Linked DNA regions of Homo sapiens: regions 1 and 3 are each linked to region 2. The links are contacts of gene promoters, found by promoter capture Hi-C in blood cells and fetal thymus (Javierre and others, 2016). All regions are on one chromosome and are shown on one strand. The core of a region is centred on a gene start or on the middle of the fragment in contact, and the rest is flanking DNA. Distances in the headings are between cores, read along the strand shown.

Region 1 (3,250 bases), core at 478-2,977, 270 kb before region 2:
TGGGTCCGCCACTCCCGCTCCTCAGGTGTGCGGGATGGTGAAGGGCGTTTCTGCCGGAAGGGAAGGGCGGGGCCACTCCGCCGGGCCATCTCCAGCAGATCCTAGGTAGAGATCAGGTGGGGGTACAAGTCATCATCCAAGACCTGTTCTGGAACAATGAACACTCTACAAGTCTACATTTTCTTCTCTTCAGTGTTAAGCCCAACTCCCTCCCTCCAGATCACAAAGAAAGATGCACATATATATTAATATATCCGAAGAATCTGTATTGATTACATGAAAAATCCCAAATCTGACTGTTGAAGTGCTCTACTAGGAATGAATACTTTTTTATACTAGACATTCAAGTATTTCTACACCAAAGCTTAAAGGATGACTTAAAATCCAAACAGCTTTGCCTCTAAGAATTTCCAGGCTGGTCCAGACCCAGGGGCTATTGGGCCTGTTATGCTACCATCCATCACAGCATTCAGAGGCCCATGCACACTTTCATATCCATTCCAAGGAATCCTCGTTTCCCTTAATAACCCATGATAGATCCAAAATCCATCTGTTTATCTTCGTAAACACTGAAGCTACTATAATTTCATCAATTTTAAGAAGCACATTTTATGTTTTAACATCTCTGAAATCAGGACACATTTGAAGTTTATCATAAGAAAGGATGGCATAGCTTAACTGTGTCACAGATTAATTGGTAGCATTTTTTTCTTCGTGGCAATTTTTGTGTTTTGCACCTGAATTGCTTCTTGAAGTCATGATACCTGTGACTGCCCACATTTTATATCCAGTTCCCAGCACTACTTACACTCCGGGAAGCAAGAATTTGCTTCAGCAGCCGATGGAAATACTGCTGCTGGGAGTTGAGGTAGCGCTTGTACTGTGACTTGAAGCATAACTGCCGGTACTTGACCACCTCGGGGTTAAAGTGTCCGTCTTAAAAAAATAAAGGTATATATATTTACATCAATCAACAAATATACATCATCAGTCAACAAATATATTGAATGAGTGCTTAACATGGTAAACTCTGTACCACAAAACTTAAGGGAAAAGTGAACATTTAAGAGAATCAAGAAGGAGAACCAAAAGTAAAAGCGTGCTGAGAAGCAATGACAGCTCATTTAAGGCTGATGATCATCACAGCCACAGTAATGCAACTGTCTTCAGCAGCACTAGAACTGACACATGGCATGGGTCAGAGTGGAATATGCAGGAAGTCCTGCCTTGACATTCCTCATCTGTATCCTTACCAGACGACCATACTGTTTCGGGGGAAACATGCCAGCAAAAGAGACAGTGCTACCTTTATGGAAGGTCCCTTACAGAGCCCCTCTAAAGCCAAGTGGGTCCCCAACTTCTGCTCTATCAGAGGAGACAGTGCACCCTCAGCTGTAGTGAAACAGATCTCTGCCAACCATAGAGGGGAATTCCTTTTTACACTAGTAACCCACCAAAGAAGGGAATGTTCATTTTACACCCTTAATATAATGCGATTTCAGGTGAAAAGGCTACTCTCTCTGGTCATTAGCAGCTGTCAAGTTGTCAAGTTTAACAGAATTCCAGATGTGCTGCCCATTCAGGGCCTTGTGCCAGAACAAAGTCACCCTGGAAGGGAAGAGGAAGAGGCTTCCTTGGCTCCTCTCCATGGTCCAGAAAGCAAACTGTAACTTAAAGAGTGGCCCAAAGCATTTTGCAACCCCCAATATAGTAACTGATGCAGTTGAGAATCACCCATGGAAGCAGAAACTACTGGGTAAGACAAAGGCTTTTGGAAAATGAGACTATCACATGATCCATGATCCCAAAGTATCATCCCACACTGCTTCTTAATGATAAAGGAATAAAGTATCCTTACAAGCAAGAGGTACCGCAGACACCCCTTAACCAAGTGAGCAAATGTGGCTTTACCAAAATGGAAAACCTGATACCATGTGCCTCCTGAGGTGACACAATGGGAAAGACCACATTTCCTATATCATATTCCTGCCGAAAGCCTTTAACCCAATCTAACCATGAGAAAACAAAATGACAAATTCCCAAGAAGCAGGACATTTTATAATTCAAGTGTCCTGGCTCTTCGTGTACTGAAAGACAAAAACAAAAGGGGCAAAGCGCCCTACCTAGATTCAAAAAGCTAAAGAGACGTAAGGCCCAAGCACAATGCATGAACCCTGAACAGATCCTGGATTTACACAGCTACTCTAAAGGACATTGCAGGAACAATCAAGAGAATTTGAACATGAAGGCCGGGTGCGGTGGCTCACGCCTGTGATCCCAGCACTTTGGGAGGCCGAGGCGGGCAGATCACGAGGTCAGGAGATCGAGACCATCCTGGTTAACACAGTGAAACCCTGTCTCTACTAAAAACACAAAAAATTAGCCAGGCGTGGTGGCGGGCGCCTGTAGTCCCAGCTACTAGGGAGGCTGAGGCAGGAGAATGGCGTGAACGCGGGAGGCAGAGTTTGCAGTGAGCTGAGATTGCGCCACTGCACTCCAGCCTGGGCGACACAGCGAGACTCTGTCCCAAAGAAAAGAAAAGAAAATTTGAACATGAAATAGCCTATGATATTATCTGCTCAATGTAAAATTCCTTGAGTGTGGTAACAGGGCGGTGATGATATGGGAAAGTGTCTGTTAAGAGACATGGACATGCTGAAGTGCTTGGCAGTGAAGTGTCATATTTTCTGCAGCAAAAAGTGTGTGTGTACCTAAACACACACACACACGAACCTTGATACGTGCAATAAAGCAAATGGCAAGCTCTTTTTAAAATTTTTTAAAGACCAGACATGAAGGGCACCTCTAGTATGCTGGAAATGTTTTATTTTTTTATGTAGATGCTGGTTACAAGCTGATGCTGGTTACAAGCTGAATTCATATTATGTATTTTCTATATAAGTCAATACATTTTTGTTTTTTAGAACACAGCCTAGACAGCAAAGTGTTACACAAAACCGCTCTTTGCTGCCTCAGTATCTGTACATGAAGATAAAAAGAAGAAAAGGAAGAAAGGAATACCCACATAAAGTGAACGTGTGCCCATCCACCACCCCCCTCAAAGAAAGAATACTGAGCTACAAACCTCGGAAAAGCTTCTGGGCAATGTGCAGAGGGTTTCCAAAGCGGAAGTTCTCCCCACTGAACAAGGCTAAGATGAGTTCATTCTGCTGCTCAGCACTGTCTTCAGGAAACTGGGGCAGAAACTGCTGGAGGTGTTCACGTTGAGAATCACTTAACACTTCCTGCC
Region 2 (2,997 bases), core at 285-2,784:
AGCCATACTGCCATACCTAACTTCAGAGAAGAGAGAGTAACACCCTGGCCTGTGCCCAGAAGGCAGAGAGCTAAAAACATTCAATGAACAACACTAAAAAACCCCATCGGTGTCTTCGACCCAATATGCGGAAGGAGTATGAAGGAGAAGAGCTTCCAGGGGATGAAAAGCTTTATGAAAGCTGCCAAGATCAGAACGCCTGGCTGGAGAGAGGGGCTCCAAACAGGAATGCTTGGAGGCACGGTGTTAAGGGAGGACAGGGCAGAGTGTGAAGCTGGGCTAAGGAGGTTGGATTTGATCCGGGAGACACGGAAAGTCATAAAGGAGCTGTGGTTTCAGATTTACCTGACTGCTTTGTGTAGGAGAGATCAGAGGGTGGCAGCCCAGAGGCAGGAGATCTTTCTTAACCAGGCAAAGGGCTCTGAGGACTCGAATAGCGGTCTTCTAATGCGCAGGAATGGAAGGGCTATGCTTGTCAGCAGAGTCTTGATCAGATTTGGAACTAATTGGATATGAGATGTAAGCAGGGTGGAGAATCAAAGATGATTCCAGGATTTGAGCCTGGGAGAATGCTGCCATTAGAATTAGAGAAAACAGTGGAAAATGGGCAAGTCAGGGAAGGAAGATGGGGCTTGTTGATCTCAAAGCAGGGATTTTTATTTTGTTCACTCCTGTTTCCCTGTACCCAGGACAGTGCTTAGCGCCTAGTGTGTGCTTGGTAATGTTCATTGGCTACAGAATACAGTAGAACATAAATGGAGACGTCCCCAGGCGACCGCTAAGGCAGAACTGGCACTCCTTGGTGGTGTCTGTGCTGGGAGGGAGGTCTTCCTGTCTGAAGTCGTAAGATGAGACGTGCTGCCAAGAGAAAAAGCTTAGAGAAGAAAGGGATGAAACTGAAGGGAGAACTTTGGGAATCATGACATTTAGGACTAGAAAGGAGGACCGGAATCCAGGGAAAGGGGGCATTTGAGGAAGCATCAGATGCTGCAAGTGGGCGAGGGGCGTTGGGATGGCTCAGAGGGCATCTGGTGGCACAGCTCATGTCACTGGGCCTCCCCAGGGTAGCCGGGCGCAGGCCAGCAAGCGCCTCCCGCCTGGAGAACAGGAGGCTGCGTAGCCGACGGGGAGCCTGGGCCAGGGGCGGTTCTGGTTTCTGTTTGGTTTTGGGGGGTTCATAAATGCGATTTAGTCCTGTAGCAAAGTGAGCAAGGTGAAGGGGAGAGACCGGAGGCGCATGAGGGAGGAGGGAAAAGATGGTTGGCATCAAGGAGGTGGATAAAGGGCTGCCCTCCCGGGGCAGGGCCCCTGGAGGGCCGGAGGGGTGGTGAACGCCGTCGTGGTGATGGTGAGGGCCTTAGCGACCACCACCCGAGTGAGGCCCCCTCACCTTCAGGCCCAGAGCCGAGGGGAGGAGCCTCCCCCAGGGCCGGCGGGGGCGGGCAGGTGAGCCGGGCAGGTGCGCAGGCGAGCGCGGCGGGCTGGGCGGGCCGAGGCCACACCCTGAAACTACCTGCGTGGGCCGGGCCGGAGTGTGAGAGCGGAGCTGCAGCCGGAGAAAGAGGAAGAGGGAGAGAGAGCGCGCCAGGGCGAGGGCACCGCCGCCGGTCGGGCGCGCTGGGCCTGCCCGGAATCCCGCCGCCTGCGCCCCGCGCCCCGCGCCCTGCGGGCCATGGGAGCCGGCCGCCGGCAGGGACGACGCCTGTGAGACCCGCGAGCGGCCTCGGGGACCATGGGGAGCGATCGGGCCCGCAAGGGCGGAGGGGGCCCGAAGGACTTCGGCGCGGGACTCAAGTACAACTCCCGGCACGAGGTGAGCGCGGGCCGGGGACCCGGGGCGCTGGGAAGCTCCTGCCCGCCCGACCCTGCAGCGCGGCGCTGGGCTCGGCCGGCTCCCCTGGCGTGTCCGTCGGTGGCCGAGCTCTGGGCGCACAGGTGGAATTTCCTGTTCAGCGGGTGCCGGGCCGCGGGCGGGCGGGGCTGGCCGGACCTTTGGTACCGGACCGGCTGCGCCCCGCCAGGGGGAGGCGGGAAGCCCCTGGGCCTTCCTGCGCCCTCGGTCCTTTCTTTCCCTGAGTTGAAAAAAGGGGCTCCGTCTCGGCCCCTCCATGACTCTCGCGCTGTTAGTGAACATCTGGAAGAAACCAGGGGCTTGGAGTGGGGTTATTTGGGAGGAAGTGAAATTTCAGGAGGGTTTGGAGTCTCAGCCATCCTTGGCCTCTGCAGAAAGTTTCTTTCGTCTCTCTCCTTCCCCGTCAAAAGGCGCTTTGGGACCTCGCAGAGGACAACTGGGAGGCCAGGGCTTTGGCTGCCATACGGGCTGGAGCTAAGAACTCCAGAGTTGGGCTTGCCTGGGCTTCTCGAGAGGGGATGGAGCCCTTTGGGAAGGCGGCTGTATGGGAAGGGATGTGGGAACACACATGTCTTGAGCCTTTTGCGAAGTACCGAAACAGGAAGCTCTTCTTTGGCAGAAAGAACAATGAAAGACCTATTGAAAGATCTCAAAAAGATTACATGTTCCTGTATGGAGTTGGGGATGGGTCGCTAGTCACTTCATTGACGGACCCACCTAGGTGGTAGTGCCCGGGCGGGACCAGCAGCCAGGTCTCTACCCTCTCTGTCCAAGGCAGACCCCCAGGTTTCCTGGAAGGCCAGGGCATACCAGGTCAGGGCGGCGCTGAGAGGCAGGGGCTGTGTGGCAGAGAGTTTTGCTCCTCTGCAAATGATGGCCTCCCTGCCCTGCCAACCCTCACTTTCTCCCCTCCTTCCGGGTGCCCCTGGGCTCCATAGTCTCCGCCGTTGCTCCCTAAGTCAGGCCTGATTTTGGTGCTGTCTCAGATCAATTCCTTTTGTCCAAGCAGCATCCCGACCTAGGGAGCTTGCAGAAAATCAGACGCTGGGGCTTTGGAGGCTGCCTGCACCACAGACAGGACCTGGGGCTGGGCTCTGCTATTTTCTCCACTTTTCACCCTCAGCAAGGAGGAAAGCTTCCAGTGG
Region 3 (2,986 bases), core at 408-2,907, 290 kb before region 2:
AAGAAACGCTCCCCCTAATAGCCACATCTCACAAGCTGCCCTGAGACTGCAGACTCATTTCATCGTGCCCTTTATCCCTGTTTAAATTAAGGCCACAGGTGGCCCTCATTCCCTGAACTGCTTAGGTTCAGAGCTCAAATGTCAAAGGGAGGCTTCCCTCACACCTAGCTGAGCCCCATCCTAGCACTTCCCACACCCTTTTCTCTCCAGTATGTATCACCACGCATGTTGCTTTTTTATTATTTCTCTACTTTACAATGTATGCTTGGAGAACAGCAGGGATTTTCATCTGTTTTAATCACTGCACCTAAAACAATACTGGATGCTCAATAAATACTGTTGATGAGCACAATAAAGCAGAGGTGTCAAAGAAGGGCCCCAGAAAGACCAGCCACTTTGCCACTCGGTGACAAGGACTGGTAAGCCCTGCCTGCCACCTCCACCCCCGAATTGGTTCCTTTACCATGACATAGTACTTACTTGGCTCCAAGGTTGCCTTTGATGATGGGGGCTGTGACCACGCTCTTGCCCTTCATTGGCTGGCTGATCACAGAGAGGGGAACTGTGATCCGTGTAGGCAACTTCCCCTAGAAAAAAAAAGCAGTCAGGTTTTGTAAGACAGGAGGTAAGGAAAACCAGCAAGTGTCACCTCCAGGGCATCAGGAACTGAGAAGCAAGCACTACAGATGCTGTCAGTCCCCAGTACCCACCAGGGTCTCAAGGCTCCTGAGGTTTGGGCCCAGAAAACCCTAACGAACTACTTATATACCATAGTCAGGTGAAATCTGATCTTTTATCATCCTCTTTCATGCCACCAGAAGCAGCAGCAACCCATCTATCTGCTTTCAACAGGATAAAACCTGTATCTAAATCACAAAGGCAGGTGTGTCCTCACTTTAGCACAGTCCAAGATTCTGAGTTCCTTGGAGGACAGAGGCTTATCTCTGTATCCCTCAGTACATGGCACAGTGCTGGGCACACAATCACTATTTGGTGAAATAAATTTGAGGAAGGACAGAGGAGCTCAAGAGTTAATACCTAAAGCGCACAACTACTCATTGGAGTGCAGGGCCACTGGTGAGGAACAAACAGCAGGGCATGCTAGATTAGGGAGAGGCCATGCTCTCCGGTGCTTTCCATTTCTCCCGGAGATAAGAGAGGTTAGCTAGGGGACACTAACAATAAACTCAATCAAGTGAAAAGTCCAACCCCCAAGCTAATAAAGCCTAAGAAGAATTTTTTTTAGAAACTGAGAAGGCCTAGAGTCTTTGGGACTTCAGGATGGTTAAGATAGGTCACTGCATTACCTGTTTTCAGATGGCCTTGATTTTAATGCTTGACTGGTAATAAAATTTCTATGCAGTGAAATCTTATGTAAATTAAATCTGAGTTTTAAAAAATTCAAGAGGGCTGGCTGACAGGATGCTGGGAGAGGGCATCAGCATTCCACAGAGGCAGGCTAACACTAAGGAGATGGGCACTCAGCTGCACAACTGCGCGGCAGGTCCCCGCACCTATCTCCATGGGGTTCACCCACAGCCTGGAGCCTGTTAAAAAAGCATGCAAAGAGGGCAACAGGCAACAGAATACCTTGAGATGGTACCTCCAGATACATTTACTTATGGTTTTGTTCTTCCTCAAAATGCCTTTGTTGCTTAAAACATCTCAGACCAGTACACTGCCTAGAATGATCCCTTCAGGAACTACCAAAAAGCTGACTAGACAGGGGGAAGTAAGCACCATCAATACTTCCTGCCCCACCAAATGCTCTCCAGTTGCACCTACCCAGGTTGATTATAACAGGACAGATGACACTTGATATAACCTTTCTGTTAGAGGGATTCAAAAGAAACAAAAGTGGATCAAGTGAGTGCAGTTTCCCGCTTCCTTATTTCAACTTCTATGATGCAGAAACCTAAGTAACTCTTTTTTTTTTTTTTTTTTTTTGAGACAGAGTCTTGCTCTGCCATCCAGGCTGGAGTGCAATGGCACGATCTTGGCTCACTGCAACCCGGGTTCAAATGATTATCCTGCCTCAGCCCCCTGAGTAGCTGGGATTACTGGTGCCCACCACCACGCCCGGCTAATTTTTCTATTTCTGGTAGGGACGGGGTTTCACCATGTTGGCCAGGCTGGTCTCGAACTCCTGACCTCAGGTGATCTGCCCACCTCGGCCTCCCAAAGTGCTGGGATTACAGGTGTGAGACACTGCGCCTGACCAACTATTTCTTTTTTAACCACACTATGTTAAGATTTTCTGTTTTGGGTATTCATTTGACTTATGTTTATATCCTTCTTCACTGCTCTGGCTTTTATCCCAATTTATGAAGGCTTCCCTATATAGCTTGCTCAGTAAAGCGAAACTGTATTTTATACTGTCCATACACACCCCTCTTCTGAACAATGCTCCTTACCTAGAGGCTGAAGAGTAAACACACATGCATCCACAGACACCTGTGTGGGGATATGGGGATTTGGTTTATGATAAATGCAGCCTTTCAAGCTAGTGGGGGAAGCAATAGTTGATTATTTTGGCAAATTTGAAAACTAGGAAGTGAGATTTCTACTTCATCCTATTCACAAAAATATATTTCAAATGCATTAACAATTATACTTTTTTTTTTTAAAACTCAAGGTATTTTATGATCCTGGGGTAAGGAAGACACAGACACGAAACCTAGAAACCATTAAAGGAAATGCTGATAGATCTAATTAGATACAATTATAAAGATCTGTAGAGCAAAAGACTCCATATATAAGGTTAAAAGATGACAGACTGGAAAAAAATATTTTCTATGTATATAAAGAATTCACATCCACAGATTCCGTATCTTCTGGATGTTATAAAAAGCCACCTCAAACAATATGAAAATGCCAAATACCTCAAAAGGAAAGTGGCAAAGATTTACTCACCAGGGAGCACATGCCAATCTCCAAATGAATGGATACTCAACTTCACTCATATCAGGGAAATGAAATCAAAAAA

The links. The method cuts DNA at HindIII sites, captures the fragments that hold promoters and counts their contacts. A CHiCAGO score of 5 or more calls a contact.
Region 1: a fragment that was not itself captured here is called in contact with the fragment with the promoter of ST14 in region 2 in 3 of 17 cell types (naive B cells, neutrophils and erythroblasts); the score reaches 5.9 in naive B cells.
Region 3: a fragment that was not itself captured here is called in contact with the fragment with the promoter of ST14 in region 2 in 1 of 17 cell types (erythroblasts); the score reaches 7.1 in erythroblasts.

What each region holds. Positions count from the first base shown.
Region 1 is chr11:129,885,509-129,888,758 of GRCh38, forward strand. It overlaps NFRKB (nuclear factor related to kappaB binding protein), which reads right to left. Exons shown (of 27, transcript NM_001143835.2): 4 at 3,086-3,250; 5 at 809-936; 6 at 1-101. Among named protein-coding and RNA genes, the nearest start is that of NFRKB, 8.4 kb to the right of the region's middle. The HindIII fragment of the contact is 2,731 bases long and covers 363-3,093 here.
Region 2 is chr11:130,158,248-130,161,244 of GRCh38, forward strand. ST14 (ST14 transmembrane serine protease matriptase) reads left to right here and starts at 1,535. Exons shown (of 19, transcript NM_021978.4): 1 at 1,535-1,813. The coding sequence starts at 1,733. RefSeq lists silencers at 1,414-1,533, 1,614-1,683 and an enhancer at 2,771-2,997. The HindIII fragment of the contact is 2,113 bases long and covers 873-2,985 here.
Region 3 is chr11:129,865,397-129,868,382 of GRCh38, forward strand. It overlaps NFRKB (nuclear factor related to kappaB binding protein), which reads right to left. Exons shown (of 27, transcript NM_001143835.2): 25 at 481-587. Among named protein-coding and RNA genes, the nearest start is that of NFRKB, 29 kb to the right of the region's middle. The HindIII fragment of the contact is 4,836 bases long and covers 1-2,986 here.